Regions from separate parts of the Homo sapiens genome. Here all the other regions are linked to region 1. The links are contacts of gene promoters, found by promoter capture Hi-C in blood cells and fetal thymus (Javierre and others, 2016). All regions are on one chromosome and are shown on one strand. The core of a region is centred on a gene start or on the middle of the fragment in contact, and the rest is flanking DNA. Distances in the headings are between cores, read along the strand shown. Region 1 holds the start of TXLNG (taxilin gamma). Region 2 overlaps REPS2 (RALBP1 associated Eps domain containing 2). Region 3 holds the start of REPS2 (RALBP1 associated Eps domain containing 2).

Region 1 (4,689 bases), core at 1,091-3,590:
ATCCCAGCTACTCAGGAGGCTGAGGCACGAGAATCGCTGGAACCCACGAGGTGGAAGATGCAGTGAGCCAAGATTGCATCACTGCACTGCAGCCTGGGTAACAGAGCAAGACTCTGACTCAAAAAAAAAAAAAAAAAACACAACAAGTTTGTTTGTTTTTTTAAGAGACAGGGTCTCACTCTGCGGCCCAGGCTAGCCTCCTGCTTCAGTCTCCTGACTAGGTGGTACTACAGGTGCATGCCACCATAGCTGGCTTAAAAATGATTCTTGCAAACACAAGATAATTCACCCAATTTGTTAAATGAAAATTCAAAGATTAATATTTTACCATGTATTTGAATGCCGTCACTGTCAGTTAGAAATCAAAAAGAAAAAGATGCTCAGAAGAGCATAAGCAAAGAAGAATGGAGTATGAGGTACATAAACAAAAATGAGTAGACACACACATGACTATTCCTATCCAGCTGTTAACCAGAGCTCTGCACCTCAAAGGGTCATTACCTCCTATCTTGGTTATTTTAAATGCTAGTTGATTAAACCTCAGTTCCTAATTCAACGACTTTTTGTCCTTATCCCAGTGTCATAAAAGGGAACTTATATCCTCAATTGCAGTGGCTTTTTATCAGAGTCCTCCTCCCCTGGGGAACCTACGAAATCAAACACTGAGATTGGCACTCCACCCTTAGGGAATAAGTGAAGTGTCCAAAGTGATGGTGTTGAATCCCTTACAGGACATTGGTCCACAGCTTCTTTTTCAGTCCTGCAAGCACTGGATCTTTCTTTTAGAATACAAAGAGAGGGAGAGAAAGAAAGAGAGGTAATTGAGAAGTAGTAACACTGTCATGCAGAAACATGAAAATACCTGACCTTAGAAACAGGCCCCAAAAAGCTAATTCTTAACACTCTGCTCAGACGTAAACTGGACCTTTGTTCTCCCATTTGAAGTTTATGAATTGCATTAGAAAAATATTATTTCGTAATTTCATACAGGAGTTAAGAGTGTTCAAATACATAATTAAGTAATATTAAATAGCCCTCGGTGATCAAGCAAGATATCCAACAAGTCGAACGTTTCAGTATGTTCACCTGCAAGGAAAAAAAGAGATGGGGTTCCCACCTTCCCAGTCTCAGTCCCCGCAATTATCCATTCCAGGGCCCCGAAAACCCTGTACCCCGTTCGTTGTGCAATCTTTTTCAAACTCCACCCACTGAGCTCCAGAACAAGTGGAATTGTCCCGTTCTGAAAGAGGTCTCAATTTTCCTGTATCTAGGGAGGGACTGAAAACTCCTTGACGTGAGTCAAGTAAGGCAAGGGGAACAGTCCGGCCTGTTTCCCAGATTAAGAAAGACCCAAGGCCAGGGTCGGGAAGGCATTCAAGTTTCCACTCATCAAATTAAAAAAATAATAAATGAAAGAAAAAAAAGAGGGGAAAAAAGAGGAGGGTGGTAAATAGGACTGGGAGGACCAGCTATCATGCGATATCCCAACTCTGCAGGACCGAGGTCCTCCAGCATCGCCTCCCCATCCATCCCCGGCCCCACGTGCAGCCAAGCCCTCGGAGCCCCGGGGTCTAGGTCCCGGGGGCCGAGCGTCCCGCTCGCACCGGCCCTGCGACACTCACCCGCTCGCCTGCCCGCCCGCGCAGTGGCGGGGAGCGCAGGGGGGCGGGGGAAGGGGGGCCAAGCACACCCCGGCTCCCGCGCGGTTATCTTACTGCGCAACAGCCTAGCCTGAGCAGCCCGGGGGCACCCCGCAGCGCGCCCTGCGCACCTGCCCGACGCCAGGAGGGCGAGCCCACGACCCCAGCGAGCCCCCGGACGGCGGCGCTCAGCGCCGGGAGCACGGTGACGGCGGTGACTGGGAGAAGGAACGCCTGGCGCCCGGATCCCCGCGGTGCTGGCCGCACGTGGCTGTCACACCTGGCGCACCCCCGCCTCGCACCCCTTCTCCCTTAGAACCGCGTGCGCCCCCTGCCCTCCCTCCCGGCTTCCCCGCCGCGCGCCGCCAAACCCCAACCGTCGTCCCTTCCCACCCCATCCATCGCGGTCCCACCCCCCCCCACCTGCTCCCACTGTCGTCACCCCCGGGAGGGAAGAAGACCGGATGTTCGTCCCGTGGCTATAGGTAACCAGGGAGAGAGAAGAGGTGGACCCTGAAAAAGGGAGCCCAAACATCCCCCGGGCCCGACAACAACGAGGGCGTCCCCCTGACTGACCTTCTGCCGCGGGCTGCGTCGCCGTCCGCCCCGTCCGGCCTCAGTCGCCTCTTCGGCGCCGCCGCCTCTTCCCCGCGCTGCCTCCTCTACCCGCGTCGCCATGAGGTGACGGCAGCAGCCAAACAAGCGGCCCGACAAGGGGCACAGAATCTCGCAGGGCCTTTCGCCCCGCCCCCGAGCCCCCACGACCAATCGCCGCATGTGAGACTTCCCACGTGACCGGAGGAGGTTGGCCCCCGAGGGGACGGAGCGAGATGGGGATGGGGAGCATTGAATACTGGGCTGGGCTTCAGCAAGACCGAAGGGCAGATAGAGGCCGTGTGAGTCTGCGCGGATCGGGAATGGGACTCGGGAGTGGACTACAAGTCCCAGCAGGGCGTGCGGCCACAGCTCGCAGGCTCGGATCGGGATTGGGACATAAGGCGGCGTTCTGAAAAGGGGAGAGTGCTGCACCCAGTGTGCTTCGTGTGCATCCTAGTGGGACTTGCGGTTTCTGGGGGCGATGTCTGGCTATAGGAAGGTACTCGTTATGATCTTTCGCGGAAAGTTTAGAAATATCCCCGTGTTTGAGAAGGAGCACGATCGGCGACACATTCTTGTGTTTTTGTTTTTGTTGCCGTTCTTAGGAATTGGGCGCGAATGATTTGGGGATAAGGGAAAATACTTCACGACTTTCAAGACGGAAGGTGTATTGGCTCTTAGAATTTGAAGTTTCGTGCTCGGGCACCTGCCCCGAGCCCTGCCCCTCCACCAGAGTTGTTACCACGGTTTACTTGTCCCGAGCTCCCGCGGGATAGGTGCCGCATTCTATTCACCTTGGTTGAACCGCCCCGGCTTCTGCACACTTACTTGGCACTTCATTCATGTTGAATGTATCCTGCTTTCTCCCACCCCATTTACTCGTTTCATTACCTAAATTTTTTCAACAAACTCGGTTTGCTGAACCGAATTTTTTTTTTTATTGATATGATGTTGGGGGGGAGAGGGGAGATTTCCTCAGGAATATTCCCTATTTCCATCTGATGGAACCAGATCTCCAATGGCCGAGCTTCTGAAAGGCACAGACCATCATGAAATCCTGATATATTGTCTTAAATAATTCATTATGAGGCCGGGCGCGGTGGCTCACGCCTGTAATGCCAACACCTTGGGGGACCGAGGCGGGTGGATCACAAGGTCAGGAGTTCCAGACCAGCCTGGCCAACACAGTGAAACTCCGTCTCTACTAAAAATACAAAAATTAGCCGGGCATGGTGGTGGTGGTGGGCTTTTCTTTTTTCTTTGTTTTTGTTTTCCCAAGACGGAGTCTTGCTGTCACCCAAAGCTGGAGTGCAGTGGCACGATCTCAGCTCACTGCAACCTCCGCCTCCCAGGTTCAAGCAATTCTCCTGCCTCAGCCTCCCGAGTAGCTGGGATTGCAGGCACGTGCCACCACGCTGGGCTAATTTTTGTATTTTTAGTAGAGAGAGGGGTTTCACCATGTTGGCCAGGCTGGTCTTGAACTTCTGACCCCCTGATCTGCCCTCCTCGGCCTCCCAAAGTGCTGGGATTACAGGTGTGAGCAACCGCCCCCAGCCGGTGGTGGGCTTCTGTAATTCCAGCTATTTGGGATCTGAGACAGGAGAATCGCTTGAACCCGGGCAGCAGAGGTTGCAGTGAGCCAAGATCGTGCCATTGAACACTCCAGCCTGGGTGAGGAGAAACTCCATCACACACACACACACAAAAGTAAGTTATTCCTCAAAAAAAAATTTTTTTTTAGAGATGGGGCATTATGTTGCCCAGGCTGGTTTCAAATTTCATGATTTTCTATATTGTTTAAGTATGTATGGAATGAAAAAAATCAATAAAGTTATCTTTATTAAGGAAAGAGGCCGGCCACGGTGGCTCACGCCTGTAACCCCGGCACTTTGGGAGGCCGAGGCGGGCGGATCACCTGAGGTCAGAAGTTCAAGACCAGCCTGACCAACGTGGTGAAACCCGGTCTGTGCTAAAAATAGAATTAGCCAGGCGTGGTGACACGTGCCTGCAATCCCAGCTACTAGGGAGGCTGAGGCAGGAGAATCGCTTGAACCCGGGAGGCGGAGGTTGCAGTAAGCCGGGATCACGCCATTGCACTCTAGCCTGGGCAACAAGAGCGAGACTCCGTCTCAAAAAATAAAAAGAAAAGAAAAGAACTATGCCATTAACCCCAAGCCTTCAGAGAAATGAAAAATATTTAATTGAATTAAATGCATATCTTTTTTTTTTTTTTTTTTTTTGAGACAGAGTTTTGCTCTTGTTGCCCAAGCTGGAGTGCAGTGGCCAATCTCGGCTCACTGCAACCTCTGCCTCCCGGGTTCAAGTGATTCTCCTGCCTCAGCCTCCCAAGTAGCTGGGATTACAGGCGCGCCCCACCACGCCCAGCTAATTTTTCTATTTTTAGTAGAGAGGGGGTTTCACCACGTTCGCCAGAATGGTCTTCATCTCTTGA
Region 2 (4,689 bases), core at 1,353-3,852, 250 kb before region 1:
CATCTTCACAACCCTGCGAGGTAAATCCGGTAATTCCCATTTTGCAGAACAGGAAACTGAGGATTAGGTAAGGGAAGTAATTTACCAAGACCACACACCTATGGCACATGGTAGAGCCAGAATACAAACTGGGTCCAAAGTACGTACACTTGATCATCAAGCTCTATAGTTATCTCTATCTGTTCATCCATCCTGTAAAAATAGAGCATTTATTACAAAAAGAACCTCACTGCAATGCCTAAATCATTGCTGCAATTTTGCAGATTGAGGATCTGTGCTTGAGCTATGACTATGCTGTATTACACCTTCCTCCCCATCATCTAGTTTAGTTTTAGATTTTGGCTGGCGAACTATTAAATCATACTGACAGAGCACCATTTTATTTCTCACATAATTTTTGCAGGTAAGCATCTGGCACGTCATCACAAAAGAATCCTAGAGCTAGCCATACAATCCAGGTATGTAATCATTTTACTGTGATTGCAGTATGTGGCGCTAACAGTATTTTGATTAACATAAGAAATGCTCATTAGTAACCACTGCCTCCAATTCTCCCCTCAGGGGCCAAGATTTGCTGTTCCAGAAGGGCACTTTTCCTTCACTATTATCAGGATTTTGTGCTCTGCTTAGAGGAGAAAGCCAAGAAAAATGAGAAATCAGCAGTAAGAGGAGACTCTGACAAGGCTGCAGACTTCCATTAACGAAGCGATGACGTTCCCACCCCTGTCCTTGCTGGTCAGGCCAAGGCTGCCTGTCTCTTCACTACGTTCTCCCCTTCACACTCAAGGCAGTCTGAGTTCAGATGGGAAACAGATGCATCCACAACTTGGACAGAATTCAAGAATGCTTTGGAGAATGAGGCTACTGACTGGAGGTGCAAAAAGAGTACAGGTTCCAGAGGCAGACAGACTTGGGTTCCAATTTGGCATGGTCACTTACTAACCAGTAAATTAACTTCTGAGCCATCAGCTCCCACCTGCAAGGCAGTCACATAGCCCACAGGGCCCTGCCTCCCTCTCCGACCTCATCTCCCTCCCACTCCAGGCTCTAGCCACAGCTGCCTTCTTTCAGTTCTTCAAATGTATCTGCTCTCCCTGTGAAATATGGTAGAGACTGGGTCACGAGTCCATTCCACCCGTCAGCATAAGTCCCAGCACTGCACAAGCTGGCTAGCTAAAAACTCCACTGTCAAAACACCTTTGCTGCTAGAATTCCAAATAGGACTTAGGTTCCACTCAACAAATACACCCACGGAAGACGGATGCAGACCCAAGTTACAGGCAGGGAACAAAGCTTTCATTTGGCTGCCAAGGTAGTTTGTAGTGTGGATCTGGTTGGAGCTGACACTAGGGCAGCAGTTTCCCAATGCTGTAGCTTTCTGATTGTGACAGAAGCAAAGCTCTCTCAGCAGCCCAGCTCTGCTGTGCGGTTTTGGAGAGGCTCTTACCTCTACAGGAAACACTCCACTCCTCTCCTCACCTCCCAGGACCATCCTTCCTTAGCCTGGTTAACTTCTATTCATCCTTCACAGCTCAGCTCAACACATACTTTGTTAAAGGAGCCTTCTCTCACTTTCTAGCTATAGGCTGGATTCCTTTGCTACATGGTACCATGTTTTAAGGCCTTTAGGGCAATTGTCAGTTTTTAATTCCACATGCATAGGTGGGATCATTTGATTCAAATCTATCTCCTCCTTTTGACTGCAAGCACCTAGAGAGCAAGAGGCTATAGGTGTACTCCTCAGTGTACCCCTGGCATGGTGGCTGACTCATGGAAGCCACTTAAGTATTTCCAAATGGACAAATGGAAGATGTAATAATACCTACCTTGTGAGATTGTTGGGAGGACTGAAAAGGGCCAGCACAGCACTGGGACCAAAGAAGCACCTCAGTCAGTAGTGACTATTGTTGGGATAGGCAACTGGGGGGGCATGACACTCCCTGCTCGCCTGAGATCAAGGGAAAGACTGATGGGCCCAGGGGCTAAAATGGTGCCAGTTGTAAAGAAGTCTTCCATATCCATAGCCTGGCATATAACTGAGACCAAAAGGTCCTGGGGAATAAGCTACTATCCTTTCCAGATTTACAAAGTACTGCCTGGAACCAGCAGTTCAAACCAGTGTTTTCAGCTACCTCTGGGAGGCTAAATTAACTAAACATCTCTTTTATTGTCAAGAAGTGTGGTACACAGTGAGCACCTGAGGAATACACTAAGAAACAGGTAGAGGCCGGGCATGGTGGCTCACGCCTGTAATCCTAGTACTTTGGGAGGCCAAGGCGGGTGAATCACTTGAGGTCAGGAGTTCAAGACCACCCTGGCCAACATGGTGAAACCCCGTCTCTACTAAAAGAAATATATACAAAAAATAGCCAGGCGCAGTGGCGCACGCCTGTAGTCCCAGCTACTCAGGAAGCTGAGGCAGGAGAATTGCTGGAGCCTGGGAGGCAGAGGTTGTAGTCAGCCAAGATCGCGCCACTGCACTCCAGCCTGGGCAACAGAGCGAGACTCCATCTCAATCAATCAATCAATCAATCAATGAAAAGAAAAGGAAAAAAGAAAAAAGAAACAAGTAGAAAAGATTGGCACTGAGAAAATAAACTTCAGTATCAGTTGAGATTAAATGTTTCCTTCCCCAAAAGTTAAGAGCTAGAAATCCTTCCTCAAAAGTTAAGGGCTAGAAAATCAGAAAGAGAACTACAAGCAGGTGAAGAAAATAAGTAAGCAGGAGACTGGAGGCTATGAAAAAATAGGACCTCCTTGTGGCAATAGTGTCCGTTCAGGTATATGTGGGTTCTATAGTAGACTCAGTGAAGTAGGACACCTGGAGGACATGTTAACCTTTGACCCCTTAGGAGATGGTATAAACGTCCAGCTGGGGTCTCAAATGAAACGAGGAATGAATTTGGTGAAAGAAGATCTCAAGAATAAGGCACATACATACCTAGAAAAGGCATCAAACTCACTCTTCCTAACACACACACACACACACACTTATACTCTCTCCCTCTATCTATCTTTATCTCTACCTCTATCTCCTCCTCCCACCCATTTCAGTGAAAGGAACATAATTTAGCTGTCTAAGCAATGCTGAGAGATCAACGCACACACACAGTGTTGACATTTACCATCTCTAACAACAGAGGATTTTTTTTTAGCCCTAATCTCTACCCATAAACTAAGTAATTCAACTTTACTGTCATGACCTTATAAACAAGAAATCTGCACTGCAGGCAGGCCTGGGGTTCTCCAGAACTGGGAAGCAGCTGGGGTCCATAACCTCCTTCGAGAGCCTCAGGTGCCAGCATCTCCTCTCACCACTCAGGGAGAAATCTTCCACACACACTCCAGTATATCTCTGGTCCAAAGGAAAAGACAGACCAGCTTCTGGTTTCATGCCATTAAGAATGACAAACCAATACTCAAAAGAAAAAGGGGCACTTGATATGAATCAACAGTTCACAGAAAAGGAAATACAAGTGACTCATAAACTTAAGATATTTCACTTCACTAATAAAGAGATATGCTAATTAAACTACAGTGAGCTATCATTTTTCACCTATCAGATTGGCAAAGACCCATAAATTTGTTAGCACATTGTTTTCACAAAGGTACGAGAAAACAGACATTTTCATATATTGTTGGCAAGTACATAGGCTGCTATACCTCCAATTTGAAAGTCGTTATCAAAAATTACAAATATATAGGCATTTTCACCCAATAATTCAATTTCTAGGAATTGGTCTCCCATATATCTGCAAACAACGCAGTGATTGCAAGTACAAGATGTCAATCAAAAGGGGCTGGCTAAATGATTTACACAAGACGCAGACAAGGAAATACTATGCATCTGTAAAAAACAAAAAGATGAGGAAGTACTTTATGTGCTGCTATAGAACGTTAATAAAGCTTATTGTTAGTGCTAAATGCATGTTAGATGTATAGTATGCCACCATATGTGTAAAAAAGCATAACTGTGTTTTGCATATATTACATGTAATTATATATAATACCTATTTTCACTTGTATATAAAAAAGATATTCATATACAATATTATATAAATGTTTTGTATAGTACTATACAAAATAAATGGGTCATATCAGTTGCCCCTGGGATGAGTGGCTGTGCGGGGAAATGGTAGGGACAGTTTTCACTGTGCCCTTTTGTATCTGTTGAATGTTTGACATATTTTTAAAATCTGTATTTGCTCTGAAGAACAAGTGTGTTTGAGAGCTCACACACGTTCGTATGAACACTTACTTACCAAGTAATGCCTTGGTAAATAATTCTTGAACCCCAAAAGAATCCGGGCGGGCCTGACCTGCTCTGTGGGTCAATTCCCTGGGCTGAGTATTAGGTTAGACAACCAGAGTAGCCAAGACAGTACCCAGTATGCCCCGCTTGTTTACCTGCTTCACTCTTCTTCCAAACTCAGATGACCAACTCTCTCATGACTCAACTCTAACCCACCTCACTCAATCCCATCCCAAACCATCAGTCATTCTCACTCCTCCGCTCTCCTTATCCTGCTTGCATCCTGGTCCAGTCTACCCATAAAATATCTTTCATGCCACAAGAAGATCTCTCGGTGCAATATCAGCCTCCCCCAAAGGCTATTTCCTGCTGTTTTCATCAAAGCTCTTAGAATGAACAATTTATTTGTGGTGACTATCAATTATCTTTTGACTCAG
Region 3 (4,689 bases), core at 1,370-3,869, 160 kb before region 1:
CAGGACTGGTTAGTGCCTCCAAGATTTGAGCAGTTATACCTGTTGGGGCACTTAAATCTCAACTTACAGGTTCCTGTTTAACAGAGAAAGGGTAAAAACATCTACGTTTGTTTTAAAGAATGGCTAATACACTGATGGGGTAATGCAAATTAAAGTGGATGGAGCATACACACACCACCACCACCACCACCACCACCACCACCACCAAAGTGATGGGTGAAAATTAGGTGTCTGCTGGTTGCTGACTTTGTTTGACTCTCTTAGGATCACATGTCCAGGATGCCTTCAATGTTCATTTTCACCTGTACCAAGAATATTGAGTTATGGTAATTTTGTTGGATTAAAGGTGGATGATGTGTTTTGCTTTGCTAGGCTGAATAAGGGAGCTTCGAGCTCTGAGAGATTTACTCCAAGCAATCTCGCAGGGATGTCCCCTTTTGCCAGTATCTGAAGCAGTCTTTTGCAAGCAGATTTCAACTGGACATCAAAAATATAATCTCATTCACGCACAGCCACTGTGCCTTGGGTCCTTTTAAAACTATATGTACCTCAAGAAAGCATGGGTTCTAACATCAGGAAATCCTTCTTCCCAATTCCTAAAGAGGCATCAACCAACATATTCAGATTTACTATGCCCACCTCCTCTTATCCGATGCATTACTGACAACAAAATAAGCCTTAATAGGTACCCAGCTGTCACTTACTTGCTGCATAGCCTCAGTCAATTATTCCTCTTTCAGCTGGGAAGCAGCTACAGCACTGAATAAATGTATTATGCTCGGGACTATTCTGAGGGCCTCATGTAATAGCCACGGTTTGTGTTTTAAGACACTGACTTTCTCTTTACCTGATCCAGCTCAACTACTCATCAGCAATGGCAGAACTGTCTACATATCAAGGACTTCTTTAGGGATAAACAGCCATGCTAAGTTCTGTGAATACTAGTTACAGTTTCAGAAATCCCAAATTCAAAAGGGTGAAAGATTACAAAGTGTCTAAAGTTATGCTCACAAACATATAGCAGTAAAAACACTCCAGCAGTATAAAACGCAGTCTTAAGCAATTTTTTTAAAAATACGTATGAACACAATGACATTGCAAGTGAACCATAAAACCCTCAGTTCTCCTTTGAAACTAGATTTTAAAATACCACTCGCCACTCTAAATATTCCATTGGTGTTAATAACATTCATACTATTGCTTTTAGGAAAAGCTTCATTTCACGTTTTGAACCTGATATTAACAGTCTTATCACCATGAAGTGCTGGTGACATGAAATGACAGACAAAGGCTTATCAAGTAGTCTTTCTCCAAGCTCCAAGGAAAGCACAAAACAAAAACAGCGTCTGGTATGTATCATCCCCTAGTACTTTTCCAAGTATAGAACAGCCAAAAGGTGGTAGCTATGACATCCCTTACCTTTCAATTCTATTTCAAGTCCAAGTAATGATAGATGGGAAACTACAGCTGTTTCCCATGGTGGACTTCTGAAGTCCACCTCTAATCTCAAATGGGAAATTTGGTTTTGACTTGACAAACGTCCTCTTGCAGTCCCGTGTCCCTGTTCTGCAACTTGTCATTAAGGTTTTCGATTTAATATTAATATTTAGAAATATGTTATGGGCAATTACATATAGTAGATACTTATATATTACAACTACATAGAGAGGACAACATTCAGCCCTGGGCCTCGAACCCTACGGACACACACACCCTTCAAGTTGAAATCCCAGCAAGGCACCCTGAGAACCCACTCAGGAGAGGGAGGGGCAGGAGCAGCGAGCAGAGGTTAAACCAGGCAGCAGCCAAAACAAACACCACTTCCAGAACAGGACAAACTTTGGGTCTGGGCGGCTGCAGAACCCCAGAAATGGCCGGGGGAGGGGAGAGAGTGTCAGACTGTCTCAGGGAAGGAAGATGGGGAGAGCGCACCCAGCACTGGGCGAGGAGCTGAGCTGCGAAGGAGGCTGGTGTCCCCCGGGGACAAGGGCGTCGCCGCCATCCCCGGCTGCAGAGTCCTCTCTCTCAGAACTGGCCGAGGCCTCCGGGTCCCTGGGGGCAGCCCTGTCGCCCCACTCGCAACCTCCGCCCCCGCACACACTGCCCCACAGACCCGCAGGGACAGGAGGCGGAGGGACCCACCTGGTGCAGCGTCTCGGCGGGCAGCTGCGATGCCCGAAACAGGTCAGCCACGGGGCCGGCGGCCGCAGTGGCCGTGCCGGGGGCGACTCTGGCGGCCTCGGGGGGCCCAGACCCGGGGCCCCCGCCCGCGGCGCCGGCACAGCGCGCGAAGAGCTCGGAGTAGCACTGCTGCTCGCCCTCGCTCAGCAGCAGCGGCGGCGGCCCGGAGCCACAGCCCCCGCCCGCCGCTGCCGCTGCCGCTGCCGCCGCCGCCGCCGCCGCTGCCGCCTCCATGGGGCCAGCAAGGGGGCGCGGCGGAGCCCTGTCCCTAGCTGGGGTGCTGCTGCGTCCGCCACAGCCACCGCCTCCTCGGCCTCAGCTGCCGCCGCCGCCGCCGCCGCCACCACCGCCGCCGCCACCACCACCCCCACGCCCCGCAGCTGCCGCGCGGCCGCTTCCTCCCGGCGCGCGCCGGCCCCACCCCCGGGCTTGAATGTTGTGCCTCAGCTGCGCGGCACATGGAGACAGGCGCGGCGCGGCCCAATCACAGCCTGAGATGTCACCCCGGCCCCGCCCCCGCCTCCCGCTTGCCCCGCCCAGCGCCAGGTAACTAACCCAGCGCGCCGCACGCCCTCCGCCCGTCACAGGCTCCGGTGCCCAGGAAGGCGGGCCCCGTGCCTTTCCAAGCCTACCCTGCAAGGGAGCGGAGCCTTTGGCCATCCGCCCTGGTTGGGAAGGGGGCATCTAGACCCAACTGGAGAGAAGCTCTTTTCGGGGAGCGGGGAAGGTTGTGTTGTTTTCTTGCTAGAAGGCTGGGGCAGGTGTGGTGCCCACACCACGCCATGCCCTTTCCAGAAAGGGACAAGGCATGGGAAATTAGGTTTCCTTTCTTCCATAGCAGTACTGCTTATGTCCTAAAGAGCCGGAAGACGCAGACGTCTGTACAAACAGGGTCCCACTGACCCCAGAGTGTTCAGGGTGGTATTGGAGTTAGGCCCCCTCGTCAGACATGGCTCAAACCAGGAGTTGAGACTTTATAAGGAATAACATCGGTTACTCGTAAATACTAGAGTAGTAAGAGTACAAAAAGACCCATTTTGCAGATCATTTCGTCCAAACCCTGCTTTTACAGATGAGGAAACTGCCATGTTCACCTTCATTCCTCCAAAACCAGTTGAATATCTCGTATGTAGCAGATTTATATGCTAGGGCCTGAAAATACAAACCTCAGTAACAGAGGATCCTCACTCTCCAAAGGAAGCACTTATTTTAGTAGTAAAACAGGCATTTTTTTTAGTACAAAACTTGTTCAAGCTCACACCAAAAATCAATGCGAAACCCCACATTTTTCCACCCCGGTCCATGTCCTCCTCTCTCTCTCCATTCCTCCCTATCCTAAAGCATACACACTATATTTTTCAAATGTGCTTGCTTCCCCCTGGCTAGTACTCTAACCACTTTTTTTTTTTTTTTTTTTTTTTGAGAAGGAGTTTCGCTCTTGTTGCCCAGGCTGTAGTTCAATGGCACAGTCTTGGCTCACTGCAACCTCCACCTCCCGGGTTCGAGCGATTATCCTGCCTCAGCCTCCCGAGTAGCTGGAATTACAGGCGCCTGCCACCACTCCTGGCTAATTTTTGTATTTTTAGTAGAGACGGGGTTTCACCATGTTTGTCAGGCTGGTCTCGAACTCCTGACCTCAGGTGATCCACCCCACCCCCACCCCCCCACCTCGGCCTCCCAAAGTGCTGGGATTACAGGCTTGAGCCACCACGCCTGGCCCTCTAGCCGCTTTTAAAAGAAAGTCCAGGCCGGGCGCGGTGGGTCATGCCTGTAATCCCAGCACTTTGGGAGGCCAAGGCAGGCAGATCACTTGAGTCCTGGAGTTCGAGACCAGCCTGGCCAACGTGGTGAAATCCCATCTCTACTAAAAATACAAAAACTAGCTGGGCCATGGTGGTGAGTGCCTGCAGTCCCAGCTACTTGGGAGGCTGAGGCAGGAGAATCACTTGAACCCAAGAGACAGAGGTTGCAGTGAGCCAAGATCACACCACTGCACTCCAGCCTGGGCAACAGAGCAAGACTCTGTCTCAAAGAGAGAGAGAGAAAGAGAGACCAGAAAAGAAGCCACTGGAAAAAAAGTCTGTCCCACCATTGCACTGGAAGTTCCAGCATCAGGCCCACATATCTGCATCTCTTTTCCAAAAATTCTCTTTTTAAATGTCATTTTTCCTGGGAAGACCTGCAGAAATATATGCATGAAGCCTCACTGGGAAACAATAACCCAAAAGAAAACATCAGTCTAGGGTTAAGCACTAATAAAAAATATATTTTACTACAAAGAAAACTACAAAACATTGATTTAAAAAATTGAAGAGGACACAAAAACATGGAAAGGCATCCCATGCTCATGGATTGGAAGAATTAATATTATTAAAATGACCATACTACCCAAAGAAATCTACAGATTCACTGTGATCCCTATCAAAATACCAATGACATTGTTCACAAAAATAGAAAAAACAATCCTAAAAATTGTATAAAACCACAAAAGACCCTGAATAGCCAAAG

What was found. The method cuts DNA at HindIII sites, captures the fragments that hold promoters and counts their contacts. A CHiCAGO score of 5 or more calls a contact.
Region 2: a contact is called between a fragment that was not itself captured here and the fragment with the promoter of TXLNG in region 1, in 1 of 17 cell types (total B cells). The highest score is 5.1, in total B cells.
Region 3: the fragment with the promoter of REPS2 here is called in contact with the fragment with the promoter of TXLNG in region 1 in 1 of 17 cell types (total B cells); the score reaches 5.2 in total B cells.

The regions. Positions count from the first base shown.
Region 1 is chrX:16,784,117-16,788,805 of GRCh38, reverse strand. It overlaps TXLNG (taxilin gamma), which reads right to left and starts at 2,340. Exons shown (of 10, transcript NM_018360.3): 1 at 2,217-2,340. The coding sequence starts at 2,318. It overlaps LOC124905250 (a long non-coding RNA gene), which reads left to right and starts at 2,540. Exons shown (of 2, transcript XR_007068398.1): 1 at 2,540-2,736; 2 at 2,843-3,146. RefSeq lists a silencer at 1,555-1,994 and enhancers at 2,041-2,773, 2,745-2,944. The HindIII fragment of the contact is 8,203 bases long and covers 1-4,689 here.
Region 2 is chrX:17,035,152-17,039,840 of GRCh38, reverse strand. The region is part of intron 5 of REPS2 (RALBP1 associated Eps domain containing 2); the gene reads right to left. Among named protein-coding and RNA genes, the nearest start is that of REPS2, 91 kb to the right of the region's middle. The HindIII fragment of the contact is 2,613 bases long and covers 1,296-3,908 here.
Region 3 is chrX:16,944,588-16,949,276 of GRCh38, reverse strand. REPS2 (RALBP1 associated Eps domain containing 2) reads right to left here and starts at 2,619. Exons shown (of 18, transcript NM_004726.3): 1 at 2,143-2,619. The coding sequence starts at 2,415. The HindIII fragment of the contact is 5,688 bases long and covers 1,216-4,689 here.